Regions from separate parts of the Homo sapiens genome. Here region 2 is linked to region 1. The links are contacts of gene promoters, found by promoter capture Hi-C in blood cells and fetal thymus (Javierre and others, 2016). All regions are on one chromosome and are shown on one strand. The core of a region is centred on a gene start or on the middle of the fragment in contact, and the rest is flanking DNA. Distances in the headings are between cores, read along the strand shown. Region 1 holds the start of RPL22L1 (ribosomal protein L22 like 1). Region 2 has its middle 9.8 kb from the start of ACTRT3.

Region 1 (3,250 bases), core at 473-2,972:
CAATCTGTACAATGTACTGTTAGGTTACATATACAGAAATGTAACAATAAATAAAAAAACACCACCACTACCCACGCCGGGGTTGATTTGAACCTCTAACCAAGTCCTAATATGTTCAAGTTGTCAAAAAGTTACGGACTTTCATTGTTTTCTATACTACCAATGATCAATTTTAAATTATCGTGCTTTTCTGCCACCCCACTGCAGATGGGAATAGGTTAGTATACTGCCTAGCCCAAGCTCAGGTAAGTGCCAGAGCTAGGATTCCACCCACCTATGTCTAGAAAATTCAATTCTTACGTTATTATAGGCAAGGGAAGGGGACTTTGGTAAAAAAAAAAAAAAAGAAAAGAAAAGAAAAAGAAAAAATAAAAATAAAAAAGGCAAGGTGCCGTCCCAGCACTTTGGGAGGCTGAGGCAGGAGGATCACGTGAGGTCAGGAGTTCAAGGCCAGCCTGGCCAACATGGTGAAACCCCATCTCTAGTAAAAATACAAAAATTAGCCAGGTGTGGTGGTGCATGCTTATAATCCTAGCTATTCAGGAGGCTGAGTCGGGAGGATTGCTTGAACCCGGGAGGCGGAGGTTGTAGTGAGCCTGATCATGCCACTATACTCCCACCTGGGCAACAGACTCTGTCTCAAAAAAAAAAAAAAACCTAAAAACCAACACCGTGGAACTTAAATTTTCCATATCCAAACCTTTTATACCAAGACCATATAATATGGCTACATAAGCAAAATGTTACTGTGGCCAGCAACCATGTACATTCACTGCAATATGAACAAACAAATCTGTATTTATCAGACTATAACCTCCAATTTAGATTCACCCAAGTGGCTACCAAGTATTACACATTAGTTTGCTTTCTCAGGTAGCATGGTAACATGTGCCAAAAGATAATTACCCAGTTGGCGCAGAAGTTAATTTGGGAGACACAAACAACTTCTGTCTAATGGAACAGATAACCCTATAGGGTTTATGGCCATGCTGGGCATTACCCAGTTTTGTAGCTAGCCCAGCAATTTTATCCTAACTTTATTTGTAAATTGCGCATGTATATCTAGCTTTTCAGATATTCTTAGGAACATTTTAACATCTTACTGGTTCCCTTACTAATGACTTAAGTAAAACATCTGAAGCACGTTTATTTCACATTGCTGGAATCTAGACTTATACTTTTCTAAAAATTACTTCACCGAGAAACTTCTTCCCCAACTGAAAGTTCTCAAAAACTTGTGATGTCGGCCATCGCGGGAGCTGAGCGCCTAGGAGCTCCCTCTGGCCTGGCAAAGGTCGTCAGACCGGCCCGATTACCCACCATTCCCCTACCCAGTGCTGAGTGGCAAAAGCATTATCAGGCGCGAGATAGTAAAGAAATGGCTCAGATTGCAGTACCACCGGCCCATTTACAGTTGTGCCTCCCTCTTTCCCGCGTGTCCAAAACCACCCATCCTAAACCAATTCCGGGCCCAGCTCCAACTCCACTAGACCTCATGGCAGCTGCCAGGGAGTCTCGAAAAACAGTTCAGGATCCTCGCGTCTTGGTTGTGTTTCTGACCCAGACTTCACTACTCCCCTCCCTTTATCTTGACTGAGACGTCTCCACTCGACAGATGCAAAAATCGTTACAGCGGAAATCATTAAATTGCCACACAACACTCCCACCAAGACATCGCTCACTCACCGGCGCCATCTTGCGAGTCGGCCGCGAGAGCAGAGAGGAAGCTACGGCCGCGCGGTCTGCATTTATATCAAAGCGTGCTGCGTCACGCGCTGAGAGCGTCAGATTGTCGCCTCCCGGAAAAGAAAGCGGGAGGAGCGCTGAGGCCGGTAACCCAGGAAACCAGTGCGCTGCCGGACGAGAGTAGGCCATCGGCTTTCCGCGGGCACACGCGGGTGGCTGTGGTTGAACTGACTCTCGGGTTTCCGCTCCTGGCTGTTCAAGCCGATTAATTGCAGTGGCCTCTACAGTTACCTAGTGGCTGCTCCCGGATACGGACGCACGCGAGGGATGCAGGAGTCATCTTTCACTAATCACCGGAATCCCCTTTCCAATCAGGGCAAGGCAGTGTCTCAGGTTGCTTTGGGATCTCCTTTTATTGCAGTTATAATCCTCCAGCGAAAAAGTTATTTGTTTGTGTTTTGTCTGTGAGCCTCGTTTTCTAAATGACTGTTGAGGGAAATTGGTGCTTCGGGGACCAGGTCCTCGGGAAAAAAAAATCATGTATATATATGCTTACACGCCCACGCCTGTAATCCCAGCACTTTGGGAGGCCGAGGCCGGAGAATCTCTTGAGCCCAGGAGTTCGAGACCACCCTTGGCAGCGTAGGCATAGGGAGAACCCGTCTCTACAAACAATTTTAAAAAAAATGGCCCGCGTGGTGGTGCGCGTCTGTACTCCCAGCCACTCGGGAGGCTGAGGCAGGAGCATCGCTTTACCTTGAGAGGCGGAAGTTGCAGTGAGTCGAGATCGAGCCACTGCACTCCAGCCTGGGTAACAGTGAGACTGTCTCAAAGGGAAAAACACGTAGTGCTTGCTTCTTGTTCATTCGTTTGGTATAATTTATCATGGGTTTTACAGTTAATCCCAGGTCTCTTGATTTCCATCCAAAATGCTCCCAGTTAAAATTCAATGAATGTTTGCTGTGACCTATCAGTATGTACAAGACACACGAGGGTGGAAGTGTCTTGCTGACAAAAGGAAAAAGTAGCTTTTGAGCTTTGAAGGATTGTAAATTGACATCAGATCCGAAAAGTGGCATGCTGAACCGCTTGGGTTTAGCAGTAATATGTTTTCGTGGAGATGAAATTATCATACCTAGGGGTAGGGGTAAGGGATGGGGTGGACTTTGTTGTTAATTTGAAGAATGACCCCAGAAAGTAAGAACTGTTCGTGGCCTTTATGCCAGCAAGTAGTTATCGTGGAAACTATGCTTTAATAGAGCATATGACTTGTAGAGTCTGAAGAGAGGCCCTGAATTCCTAGAAGAAATCCATTTCAACAAGATTTTTTAGTTGTCTGCCTTAAGAGCTACAATAATCACATTTCTCTTTCCAAACATTAAAGGGAGCAATTGGCATTTCCTCCTCAAGGGCTGCCTAAGCTGAGGGGCAGAAATGATTCTATTTTGCTTGTCTTTAGCAGTCTTCCATGTCTTGACAATAAACTCCTTAAGCACTATTAAGCCATTTGTACAAGGAGGATATGGAAACATACCTGTTTCACAAGAACTAGTAATCACCAAAT
Region 2 (3,276 bases), core at 266-2,765, 1.1 Mb before region 1:
TCACCTTTGAAGTCTCAACACCCTGAACAATACAACATGTTGCAGACTAGGTATTTAGTGTTTGTTAAATGAACATCACAACTTTGCAAGTGGTTCATTCATTCCAGTATAATAAGATTCCAGTTATTGTGAAAAGCCATTTAAACTGTTTTCCTTACCAAGGAAAAGTTGATAGATGAGTAATTATTCTTTAACTTAAAAAGAGAATGAAAAAGTATGTGATTTTTTTAAAATTATTTTTTGTTTGTTTAGTTTTCTGTAAAGTAAAATAGCAGTTAAAAGCTAAAATGCGTGTATTTACATTCTTAGGCCTGCTACTGACCTTCTTCAAGTGATTTTACCTCCCAACGTTTCAGTTTCTCCATTTGCAGAAGGGAGATAATGGTGGTTGCCTTATCTCACAAGGATGTCATGAAAATAAGTCAGATAAATTGCTTTGCCCTCCTTGGAGAGGGGCTCTAGAAAGTAAGCATTATTAGATATGATGATGAATACCCACAACTTCAAAGATATTTTTAAATTGCCCCCCCTCCGCCCCCAAGTCTTTGAACATGTTAAGCCTATGAATAGCACTGGGGTAGGTGTTTATATATTTCTGGCAAGCTTTCACCTCTTGTTAAAGCAGTAAATGGTCTTTGAACAAACGTATTTCTCATTCTTTGATAACTATGCTTCCTTGTTTGTACACTTGAAAGATGATTATAATCTGGCATATGAGGTCAAGTTGAACTCCTTGGTGCCATTACAGTTCAAATGTAGCTTTAATTGAGTTTTTCTTCCAAGGTTGAAAATAAGTCACCCAGTTCACTTTAGCAAACTACTCGCATTTTTTAAAAAGATTGTGGGGAATGTAACTGTTTTTGCAACTGATATGTATAATGTTTTTCATTTTAGTTATAATATCCTCATTGATCATACAAAAAAGTCAGTATTTGTATTTCTTCATTATTGCATTTTTCTGTTTTCCTTAAATTGTTTTTAATAACTATAATTATGCCTTTTAACACTTATATAGACAGCCATAGTACACACATAAATATCACCAAAGTGAAAACCTAGAGCCCCAAGACAAAAAAAAAAAAAAAAATGATAGTCAAACATCATCTAGAGAAAGATTCTAGCTGCAGGTGTGCATCAAGTTCATAATTGGTGTTATTTTAAAAATTCACAAACCATTAGCACTTCCACCCTTCTCCATATATCTCTTAACTATATACCCAAGTCAAAACCACTTCCTGCCAGAGTAACTACAACATACCCATCAGAGCGCTGTAAAATCATTACTTGCAAAGTAAAGAGTAAGACAGACTTCTCCTCTCATTAATAATACCAGTTGCTGTCATATATATTACTCATATATTCTCCCCACAACCACCCTTCAAGGGAAGTCTTAGTACATCCGGTTGACACATGTGGAATGTAAAGTTGGGTGACTTATGCTAGATTCCCTCAGCTAGGTTAGAACAGGGTAAAAGTACAGGACCACAATAATATCCTTATTTCAATGTCTTCCTGTTTCCTTTTTATATCAAGGAAGAAATGAGAATTTGAGGCAACACAAATGAAGACCATATATACTTTGATACCTACCTAGGAGGGGAGATACAAACCAGAGTAAAGGAAAAATATGGGAAAAGTTGCCTCATTTCCACCTAGTGATGGTGGAACCCTTGGAACCCTCTTCACATCCCATAACGACTGACAGAATGGACACTGAAAAACAGGCCCACCCCTCAGGCAGAACCACTGGAAGAAATACCCTAACCCCTATACGTGAAGGATTAGCACTACTATTTTCAGAATATTATTAAAATTTAATTTTGAAACTTCTCTTTAGTGATATTCCCAGAAACCTATAACAGATACCACCAGTGTAAACTCCTCTCAAATACATTTATTTTGGGTAGGCCTCAAACTGGTAGGATGGTCCAAACCCTCACCCTTCTAGAGAAAGCACTCAGGAATGCTTAAATTTGCCTAGGCCAAAGGTCGCAAATTAATAGCCTATAATAGACCAGATTTTATCTCAAAACGTTTTTTTATTGGTGCATTGCAATGACTTCAGCTATCAACAACCTAAGCTAGGAGGTCCCCAGGCCATCCTTACATCTGACAAGCTGCCTACAAATTTAGGGGTTCCCACTACCCCTTCAAGTTTCATAATTCAGTAGAATGACTTAGAGAACTCAGGAAAGTGTTATTTCGGTTTTATTACAGTTTTATCATAGCAAAAGGATGTTTATTATAGTTATTATTATGGTTTTATTATAGCAAAAGGATTCAAATCAAAACCAGCCAAAGGGAGAGACACATAGAGTGAGGTCTGGGAGGGTCCCAGAAAGAAGGTTCCATTGTCCCTCTCCTCATGTCCTCAGGGACACATTTTCCTCCTAGCACACTGAGTACTGCCAACCACGGACGTTCATCCAAGCTTCAGTGTGTCCAGAGTTTTTATTGGGGCTTCATTACAGGCATGATTGGATGAATCACTAGTCATAAGGCTCAGACATGTGGCTCCAAGTCTCTCAAGAGGTCGGGCTAGTATCATGGGGCCCAAAGCCCCAACACTCTAATCACATGGCTGACCAACCCCCAGTCATGAGTCATCTCGTTAGTGTAAACTATTGGGTCTAGTCCAAGAGGCCTACCAAGAAAAGACACTCCCACCATTCTTGGTGAATTCCAAGGGTTTAGAGGCTACTTCCCAGGGTTCAGGAACAAAAGCCATCCAAATTCTTTACCATGCACTTATATAATATTTAAATTTTATTTCAATTTAGCTACCAACATTCTATAATCAGTGGTGTTGACATAAAAATCTGAATTTTTGTCTTCTCTTGCAATACTGACAATTTTAGGCTCAATTTCTGTAAGATTGCTGCCTCCTTAAAAAGGGAAGCTCATTCTCCCTACCATCTCTATAGTCTCCATTTTCTTATTCCCAGTGTGATTCACTTCTTTGTTTCCTTTCTGTCCACTGCAGACATTTAAATTTGCATATCCTGGGCTAATTCTTGGGTATTTTCGCTGTTTTTACTTCCATCACATATTATTACCTTAAAAGAATGAACATGAAGGAATGACAGTTACCTTTTGTCACTTCATTCTCATCTTATTTAAAACCACTCCTCCCTTACACTTTGTATGACGGTGGGTGCATGTGTACACACGCTTGTGCCTGTGCCATCTATTTGTCTCTTAAGTCTCGAGCCAGGCTAACATGGAATTTTTGACTGCAGAACCAGGACAAGCTGAATTAAAACTCAATGTCATCCT

What was found. Contacts are between HindIII fragments. The CHiCAGO score rates a contact against its expected background, and 5 or more counts as called.
Region 2: a fragment that was not itself captured here is called in contact with the fragment with the promoter of RPL22L1 in region 1 in 2 of 17 cell types (naive CD4 T cells and naive B cells); the score reaches 5.7 in naive CD4 T cells.

The regions. Positions count from the first base shown.
Region 1 is chr3:170,868,473-170,871,722 of GRCh38, forward strand. It overlaps RPL22L1 (ribosomal protein L22 like 1), which reads right to left and starts at 1,723. Exons shown (of 4, transcript NM_001099645.2): 1 at 1,687-1,723. The coding sequence starts at 1,695. RefSeq lists enhancers at 1,216-1,265, 1,435-2,161, 2,162-2,887. The HindIII fragment of the contact is 15,380 bases long and covers 1-3,250 here.
Region 2 is chr3:169,758,134-169,761,409 of GRCh38, forward strand. No RefSeq gene overlaps it. Among named protein-coding and RNA genes, the nearest start is that of ACTRT3, 9.8 kb to the right of the region's middle. The HindIII fragment of the contact is 1,828 bases long and covers 602-2,429 here.